Linked DNA regions of Homo sapiens: all the other regions are linked to region 3. Evidence: promoter capture Hi-C in human tissues and cell types (Jung and others, 2019). All regions are on one chromosome and are shown on one strand. The core of a region is centred on a gene start or on the middle of the fragment in contact, and the rest is flanking DNA. Distances in the headings are between cores, read along the strand shown.

Evidence for each region. The method cuts DNA at HindIII sites, captures the fragments that hold promoters and counts their contacts. A contact is called where the count stands out against the background at its distance.
Region 1: a contact is called between the fragment with the promoter of TUBB4B here and the fragment with the promoter of CLIC3 in region 3, in 1 of the 25 tissues and cell types used here (heart right ventricle).
Region 2: a fragment that was not itself captured here is called in contact with the fragment with the promoter of CLIC3 in region 3 in 2 of the 25 tissues and cell types used here (dorsolateral prefrontal cortex and spleen).

What each region holds. Positions count from the first base shown.
Region 1 is chr9:137,239,865-137,242,921 of GRCh38, reverse strand. It overlaps TUBB4B (tubulin beta 4B class IVb), which reads right to left and starts at 1,635. Exons shown (of 4, transcript NM_006088.6): 1 at 1,505-1,635; 2 at 1,093-1,201; 3 at 901-1,011; 4 at 1-426. The coding sequence starts at 1,561. RefSeq lists silencers at 1,231-1,460, 1,791-2,610. The HindIII fragment of the contact is 17,682 bases long and covers 1-3,057 here.
Region 2 is chr9:136,811,835-136,814,666 of GRCh38, reverse strand. The region is part of intron 1 of RABL6 (RAB, member RAS oncogene family like 6); the gene reads right to left. It also overlaps the pseudogene NCLP1. Among named protein-coding and RNA genes, the nearest start is that of CCDC183-AS1, 4.4 kb to the right of the region's middle. The HindIII fragment of the contact is 4,462 bases long and covers 1-2,832 here.
Region 3 is chr9:136,994,845-136,997,857 of GRCh38, reverse strand. It overlaps CLIC3 (chloride intracellular channel 3), which reads left to right and starts at 1,290. Exons shown (of 6, transcript NM_004669.3): 1 at 1,290-1,347; 2 at 2,101-2,210; 3 at 2,291-2,416; 4 at 2,566-2,672; 5 at 2,753-2,928. The coding sequence starts at 1,315. The HindIII fragment of the contact is 25,713 bases long and covers 1-3,013 here.

The DNA of each region.
Region 1 (3,057 bases), core at 386-2,885, 240 kb before region 3:
CACTCATGGTAGCAGACACCAGGTGGTTCAGGTCACCATAGGTGGGCGTGGTCAGCTTTAGGGTTCTGAAGCAAATGTCGTAGAGAGCTTCGTTATCAATGCAGTAGGTCTCGTCTGTGTTTTCTACGAGCTGGTGGACTGAGAGGGTGGCGTTGTAGGGCTCCACCACTGTGTCTGACACTTTGGGCGAAGGCACCACACTAAACGTGTTCATGATCCTGTCTGGGTACTCCTCCCGGATCTTGCTGATGAGGAGGGTACCCATCCCAGACCCAGTCCCCCCACCCAGGGAGTGGGTCAGCTGGAAACCCTGCAGGCAGTCACAGCTCTCAGCCTCCTTTCTCACAACATCCAGCACCGAGTCCACCAGCTCCGCGCCTTCTGTGTAGTGCCCCTTGGCCCAGTTGTTCCCAGCACCACTCTGACCTGTGAGAGAACACAGCTAATCATTTGTCAGCCAGGTAGACAGCACTACTGGTCACCGCCATGCGAAAAAAGCCGAGTGACATGGTGTGAGCTGACCACAGAATTCACCCTGGAGGTAGAGCAAACGGACCCTTCAAAGCCAAAAGACGGCAGCCTGCCCTGCTACGAATTAAGTCAGGGGCCAAACCTGACAGCTTAACAAACCCCTCCCCGGGGGGGCCACTGCCAATTCCCAAGGACAGAGGAACAGCCACTGCCCCAGCTCAGCTCCCTGCAGGGAGATTACGTGTGTGGCGGCTCCTCGCCTCGGCAGACAGCTGGACCTTGCTCCCAAAGCCGATTTAGTAGAGGGGATTGAGTGGCTCAGAGAAGAGGAGGGCGTCCAGGGGCCCCGGCTGCGCAGTTCCCACGGCGGTGCCCTTGGAGCAGCCCCTTGACCTTTGAGCCGCCGCCCAGTCCCCAGCCACGGCTCACCGAAAACGAAGTTGTCCGGCCGGAAGATCTGCCCGAAGGGCCCCGAGCGCACGGAGTCCATGGTGCCGGGCTCCAGATCCACGAGCACGGCGCGGGGCACGTACTTGCCGCCTGCGGGGACGGGAGGGCGTCAGCCAAGGCAGGGGCCGCGGGGTCCCCGGAGGGCGGTCGGGGAAGGGGCCGGGGCCTCACCGGTGGCCTCATTGTAGTACACGTTGATGCGTTCCAGCTGCAGGTCGCTGTCCCCGTGGTAGGTGCCCGTGGGGTCGATGCCGTGCTCATCGCTGATCACCTCCCAAAACTACAAGGGACGCGGGCGGGCCCGGGCGGGCCGGGGCTGAGTCACCGCGGCCGGTGCGCAGGGAGGCAGCCCCGCCCCGGACGGGCGCGGCAGCCCGGCCCTCCCCGCCCCTCCCCCGCCCCGCGCGCCCTGGCCGCCGGGTTCCTGGGGGCTTCGGTCGCCCGGCTCGGCCAATTCCCCGCGGAGGGGGCCCGGCGGCCGCAATGCGGGGGCGCCGCCCGGCCGCTGCTGCCGCCATCTTCCCCGGCCGCCCGCCCACACCGCCCGGCAGGCCCGCCTGGCCCCAGCGCCCCGGCAACTTACCTTGGCGCCGATTTGGTTGCCGCACTGCCCGGCCTGCAAGTGCACGATTTCCCTCATGATGGCGGCGGCGGCGGCGGGGAAGCAGGAGGAAGTAGACAAACAGCAGCAGAAGAGCGGGCGCGCAGAGTGCTACAACCGACGCTCCGCCAACGCTTATATACCCTCCCTGCCCGCCTCCGCTAGTCTCGGAATGGGCTGCCAGAACGAGGCTGGCAAGCTCCCTCGTTTGATTGGCCTTGCCCCCGTCAATCAAGCTGCCTAAGGTCCGCCTTTTTAAGCCAGTTTGGTCTTTATTGGTCAGCCGCAGCCTCCTATCTCCCTATCACAATCCCCCTCCTGGCGCCGCAGTGCTCCGTCCATTGGGTGTTTCAAATGATTGATTTGCCGTCTCATTGGCTGGCTGCCGGGAGCACGCCGCCAGGCTGGCGCTATTGGCTGCGCTGCTTCAGCGTCCTGGTAACCGCCGCAGTGCCGCGGCCGGCGCGCGGACGGGGTGGGGCGCAGGCGCGAGTGCGGGCTTCCGGTCGGGCGGCGGGCAGCTGCGCTGGGGGCGCCGAGGGAGGGCGGGCCCGACGGGCCTCGGGCAAGCGCAGTCTTGGCTCTGAGCCCGGGGCCTTTCGGGAGCCGGGAAGGGCAGGCTCGGTGGCGGCCCCACGTCCAGAGTTGCGCCCTCTCTGGCCTTGCGCCGGGACACGGCATCTGCGCGCTGGGCGGGTTCTGGAGCGGGGTCCGCACGGAGCGAGCCCGGGGCCTCCAGGCCGAGGAGGCTGCGATGCCTTAAAGGCAGGAAGATACACGGGCTCGGGGGCTGCGGCGGTGGAGGGGAGCTCTCCACAGAGCCGCAGAGGCCACGGAGTTTCCTGCTCCCGGGTGCCGCACGCCCACTGCCCTCGCGGTCGCGTGAGGGGAGCACGTGGGGGACGCCGCGCCCCGAGGGCCGGGGCGGAGGGCAGGGGAGGGGAGCGGAGGGGCGAGGCCTCCCCCGCAGCTGCGCGCCCTGCCCTGTTGTGGAGACGGCGCTGGCTCTGCGCCGGTCGCCTTGGTGCCTCGGCCCCGTGAGTGCGCGAGCTCCGTGGAGACCAGGACAGCGCCCAGACCTCCCTCGGCGGGTGGGCCCCGACCTCCGGGCTCCAGGGCCGGTATTCCAACCACAGGTCAGCGCGCTGGGGCTGAAACATACTTCTGTTAATGCTTTTCCTAATTTATGACTTGATTTTTACTTGGGTGGGAAAAGAAACTTAAAATGAATTACATGTGGTTGCGCCTGTTTAAAAACAAACGGGCTGTATTTTTGCAGCATTTTTATTTTACTTAATTTATTATTCTGAGACAGAGTCTCGCTCTGTCTCCCGGGCTGGAGTGCAGTGGCGCGATCTTGGCTCCCCGCCCCCCCCCAGGTTCAAGCGATTCTTCTGCCTCAGCCTCCCCAGTAGGTGGGACTGCAGGCACCCACCACCACGCCGCTAATTTTTGTATTTTTGGTAGAAATGGGATTTCACCATGTTGGCCAAGCTGGTCTGAAACTCCTGACCTCAAGTGATCCGCCCGCCTCG
Region 2 (2,832 bases), core at 206-2,705, 180 kb after region 3:
TGATTCTCCTGCTTCAGCCTCCTGAGTAGCTGGGATTACAGGCGTGTACCACTACCACCCGGCTAATTTTTGTATTTTTAGTAGAGACGGGGTTTCACCATGTTGGCCAGGCTGGAACGTCTTTCAATCTTTGTTGGAAACCTGAACTTTAACAAGTCTGCTCCTGAGTTAAAAACTAGTATCCATGGGCCAGGCCTGGTGGCTCACGCCTGTAATCCCAGCACTTTGGGAGGCTGAGGTGGACAGATCACAAGGTCAGGAGTTTGAGACCAGCCTGGCCAACATAATGAAACCCTGTCTCTACTAAAAATACAAAAATTAGCCGGGCGTAGTGGTGCGTGCCTGTAGTCCCAGCTACTGGGGAGGCTGAGGCAGGAGAATCACTTGAACCCGGGAGGTGGAAGCTGCAGTGAGCACCATTGCACTCCAGCCTGGGTAACAGAGCAAGACCCTGTCTCGAAAAAGAAAGAAAAACAAAAACTAGTATCCATGATATTTTTGCTAAAAATGATCTTGCTGTTGTGGATGTCAGAATGGGTATGACAAGGAAATCTGACTATGTGGATTTTCAAGCTGCTGAAGACCTGGAAAGAGCCTTGGAACTCGCTGGTTTGAAAGACTTTGGCAATGAAATTAAACTAGAGAAACCAAAAGGAAAAGACAGTAAGAAAGAGCAAGATGTGAGAATACTTTTGGCTACAAATCTCCCTTACAAAGTCACTCAGGATGAATTACAAGTGTTTTGGCTGGGCGCAGTGGCGCAGTGGCTCACACCTGTAATCCCAGCACTTTGGGAGGCCAAGGCAGGCAGATCACGAGGTCAGGAGATCAAGACCATCCTGGCTAACACGGTGAAACCCTGTCTCTACTAAAAATACAAAAAATTAGCTGGGTGTGGTGACGGGTGCCTGTAGTCCCAGCTACTCGGGAGGCTGAGGCAGGAAAATGGCGCAAACTTGGGAGGTGGAGCTTGCAGTGAGCTGAGATCACGGCCACTGCACTCCAGCCTGGGCAACAGAGCGAGACTCTGGCTCAAAAAACAAAAAAGTGTTTGAAGATGCTGTGGAGATTGGATTAGTCAGCAAGGATGGGAAGAGTAAAGGGACTGCTTATATTGAGGTTAAGACAGAAGCTAATGCAGAGAAAACTTCTGAAGAAACGCAGGGAACAGAGATGGATGGCCGATCTATTTCCCTGCACTATCATGGAGAGAAAGGTCTAAATCAAGACTAGAGAGACCACTTGGAGGGGTGAATCAAAAACTCTGGTTTAAGCAACCTCTCCTACAGTGCAACAGAAGAAACTCTTCAGAAAGAATCTGAGACAAGGCAACTTTTATCAAAGTGCCCCAGAACCAAAATGGCAAATCTAAAGGGTGTGCATGCACTTACAGTTCGCTTCATTTGAAGATGATAAAGCAGCTTTAAATTCCTGTAATAAAAGGGAAACTGGGGGCAGGGCAATCAGGCTGGAGTTGCAAGGACCACCTGATGCCAGGAGCCAGCCATCTAAAACTGTCTGTCAAAGGCCTGTCTGAGGACACCACTGAAGAGGCTTTAGTCATTCGACAGCTTTGTTGGGCAAGGGTAGTCACCAACCAGGAAACCGGGTGCCCCAAAGGCTTTGGCTCTGTAGATGGCAACAGTGAGGAGGATGCCAAAAGCGCCAAGGAGGCCGCGGAAGATGGTGAAATTGAGGGAAACAAAGGTAACTTGGACTGGGCCAAACCTAAGGGCGAAGGTGGCTTTGGGGTTGTGATGGAGGTAGAGGAAGCTTTGGAGGATGAGGTGGTGGCAGAAGCCAGGAAGGCTTTGGTGGGCGAGGCAGCTTCTGGGGAGGCAGAGGTGACCACAAGCCACAAGGAAAGAAGACAAAGTTTGAACGGCTTCTGTCCCTTTGTCTTTCCCTCTCCCATTTGAAAGAAAGGACGCTGGGGTTTTTATTCCGTTACCTGATCAATGACAGAGCTCTCTGAGGACATTCCAAGACAGTCTACAGTCCTGTGGTCTCCTTGGAAATTCGTATAGACAACATTTCAAGGGTAATACCTTCCTTGTTTGTTTTGACTGGATATTCATATAAACTTTTCTTTCTTTTCTTTTTTTTTTAAGACGAAGTCTCACTCTGTCGCCCAGGCTGGAGCGCAGTGGTGTGATCTTGGCTCACGGCAACCTCTGCCTCCCGGGTTCAAGCGATTCTCCTGCCTCAGCCTCCCGAGTAGCTGGGATTACAGGCATACGCCACCACACCTGGCTAATTTTCATATTTTCAGTAGAGATGAGTTTCATCATGTTGGCCAGGTTGGTCTTGAACTCCTGACCTCATGTAATCCGCCCACCTCAGCCTCCCAAAGTGCTGGGATTACAGGTGTGAGCCACCGTGCCCGGCCTGCTAAGTCCCATTTCTAAATTCGCACCAGTGTCTACTCAGAGAGGACTCTGGTTGTCCGAGCTCCTGGGCCAGGCCAGTATCAGAGCTGCACAATAATGCTCACTCAGGAGCAACTCCACAGAAAAATTCTGCACCAAATACAACTGATATTTTGTGTCCAGTCACAGTAGAAAGGGACAGACCAACTCAGGCAACAATCTTTCTTCCAAATAATTTCAAATAATTTTCCTAATAATTTTATATGCAAATAATTTCAAAATTGTGTAAACCAAAATTAAAATCCCAAGGCCTGCCAACCATCTGAATGGACTTCCTCTTCTAGGCCAGGGCCATCCAAATTTCATCTGAAAGACTGGTTCAGGCCATTATGGGAAGAGGGGAGTCAGACAGGCCTCATTGTGGCCTCCTCCCTTCTGGAATTCAGGAAAAGCTCACCAGCAT
Region 3 (3,013 bases), core at 41-2,540:
AGGCCGGATGGAGGGAAATTGAGGTTCAGGACACCAAAGGATGGGGCAGCCACATGGTATTTCCAAGGCTCTGTGTCCAGGAGCCCCGACTGGCGTGGTATCCAGAGAAGCATCAGGCTGGGCTGACTGGGGCAGCACTGGAGTGTGTTCCACCGGGGACGGATGAGGGGCCCGTACCAAGGCCCTGGGGAGAAGGTGAGCAGGAGAGCAGTGCCACCTCAGCTGCCCTGTCCAGGCTGGTGAGGCACCACACCGCCTGGGGGAGGTGTGGCCAGGCCAATCCTGTGGGCACCCCAGGTCTCTGGGTGGAATCTCCCCTCGGTGTACCTCCCTGGGGCTGCACCCTAAAGCGTCAGGGCCAGGTGGGAGGAAGGCACAGTTGGCGACCCCAAAGGGCCAGACTGAACTGTGGGTTCCAATCACGCCAGGAGGCTCAGCGCAGGCTCACACCTGTGGACCACCACCCTCCCCTGGCCTCTTTCTTCCAGCCACGCAGGCTGTGGCTTCTAACCCCTCTCCTGCTGCTTCTTTTTAAAGGTTAAGGGGTTGGGGGTAAGAAACCTGCGCTGAGCGCCAGTGGGAGGGATGGGAGGTGGGGTGGAGACCTGCACTGCCGGCCAAACACCAAAGCCAGGCTGGCCTCCCCGCCCTGTTGCGGGCAGGTCTGGAATTTGAGCCCTGCCCTGAGCGGGGAGGGCCCTGCCTGACTGCTCCGTAGCTGGGAAGGGGCGGCTCCCCCAGGTGGGCTTATCACCCTCCCGATGCCCTGGTGCTGCAGATGGGGAACTGAAGCCAGGCTGGGCAGGCCATTTCTCCTGCTCACCCACACCCACTGGCTTTCTGGGCTGGGAGCCCTGACAAGGGGTATTTGCGGAAGGGAGAGCCATAGGGCAGGGTCTGAGCTGGGTTCACGGTGGAGGTGGTCCTGACCCAGAGCCGCCCCCTTCCCAGGTGACACCCCCTGCACCCTTCTGGCCTGTAGGCTCTCCCTATGCCCTGCCCCCTGGTCTCCACCCACCACGCTGGCTCCCAGCACACTCAGTACCGGGTGGGCGGATCTCCGTGCACACCAGACTCAAGTCCAGGGCAGCCCCCCACACCATTCCGCCACCCTGAGGTCACACCCTCAGGCTCAGACACCCCGGGGCCGGGCTGGCGTTGCTCAGGCAGCTGGTTCTGCGCGCTGGGCAGCTTCATCTGCCCGCCTAGGTGGCTCCACGGGGCGGGCCCCTCGGCCAGGGAGGGCGGGGCGCACAGGGAGACTTAAAGAGCTCCCCAGGTCCCCACCCGCGCCTGACCGCGGCAGCTCCCACCATGGCGGAGACCAAGCTCCAGCTGTTTGTCAAGGTGCAGGGCGGACTCAGCTGCGGGGAGGGTGTCTGGGAGGAAGCGCTTTTCTGGGCTTTGCTTTCTGTGGCAGGCTGTGGGGTGGGCCTCCCAGTAATGTCTGAGCCCCTTCCTGTGGGTGGCTAGGGGGACTCAGGCAGCCCTACAGAGGCTGAGTAAAGTGGGACCCAGCGAGTCACCCAGAGAGGGGTCAGTGGCCCTGGTCCTGCTCCCAGCCTTGGCTCCTGGGCCCAGCCCAGTCTTCTGGAGGAGAGCTCCTTGGTGGGGAGGTACCAAGCAGGCTGCCAACAGTGGAGCTTACGGTCGGTGTTCCAGGATGGGGGGTGCTGGGCCAGGCAGCCCCATCAGCTCTCAGGTCGGGGACTGGGGTGGGGGACTGATGTGCTGTTGGCCACAGTGCCCAGTCTCATGTGTGAATCACTCAGAAAACAGCTTGTGAGGCCCACCCCACCCCTGCAACCAGCTTTTGGGGACTGAGCCCAGGGGCCTGGCCTCTGTCCAGGCTCTGACAAGATTCCAGGGGCCAAGCCTGCCCCAGGCCTCAAGGCTCCCAGCAGCTCTGCCCCCCTCCCCACGTTCTGGGGACCAAGTCAAGGGCCCTCACTGGGCACTTGGAAGTCGCGCCGACCAAGCTGGAGCCCTGGCGTCCCTCCAATCCCACTGGCAGTGGGAGGCGGGTCCCGCCCAGCCTGGCGGCAGGATGCCTGGGTCTGCTTCCAGCCCTGACCCCCCACCCCCGCTCCACCCACCCAGGCGAGTGAGGACGGGGAGAGCGTGGGTCACTGCCCCTCCTGCCAGCGGCTCTTCATGGTCCTGCTCCTCAAGGGCGTACCTTTCACCCTCACCACGGTGGACACGCGCAGGTGAGGCCCCATCCTGTGGACCCCCGCCTGGCCTCGCACACTGGTGGGCCGGCCTCCTCCCACCCCGCTGCTGCCCGCAGGTCCCCGGACGTGCTGAAGGACTTCGCCCCCGGCTCGCAGCTGCCCATCCTGCTCTATGACAGCGACGCCAAGACAGACACGCTGCAGATCGAGGACTTTCTGGAGGAGACGCTGGGGCCGCCCGAGTGAGAGCCCCGGCAGGGTGGGAGGGGAAAAGAGGGGGGCCCAGGGAGGACGCGCGCAAGACAGAGCCCAGGAAGGCGCTGTGGGGGTACTGTGGGGCCGGGACGGGGCTGCCCCCAGTCTAATGGAGTCCCACCCCCTCATCCCGCAGCTTCCCCAGCCTGGCGCCTCGTTACAGGGAGTCCAACACCGCCGGCAACGACGTTTTCCACAAGTTCTCCGCGTTCATCAAGAACCCGGTGCCCGCGCAGGACGAAGGTGAAGCGGGGTCAGGGGGTCGGGTGCCCAGGCGGGAGGGCGCCCTGGGCCTGGTCCTCACCGCGCCGCCTGCCCCCTAGCCCTGTACCAGCAGCTGCTGCGCGCCCTCGCCAGGCTGGACAGCTACCTGCGCGCGCCCCTGGAGCACGAGCTGGCGGGGGAGCCGCAGCTGCGCGAGTCCCGCCGCCGCTTCCTGGACGGCGACAGGCTCACGCTGGCCGACTGCAGCCTCCTGCCCAAGCTGCACATCGTCGACGTGAGCACGGAAGGTGGGCGGGCGGGAGGGTGACCGCGGCGCGCCTGGGGGACGGCAGGTCCTGACCGCGCCCCGCGATCCTGCC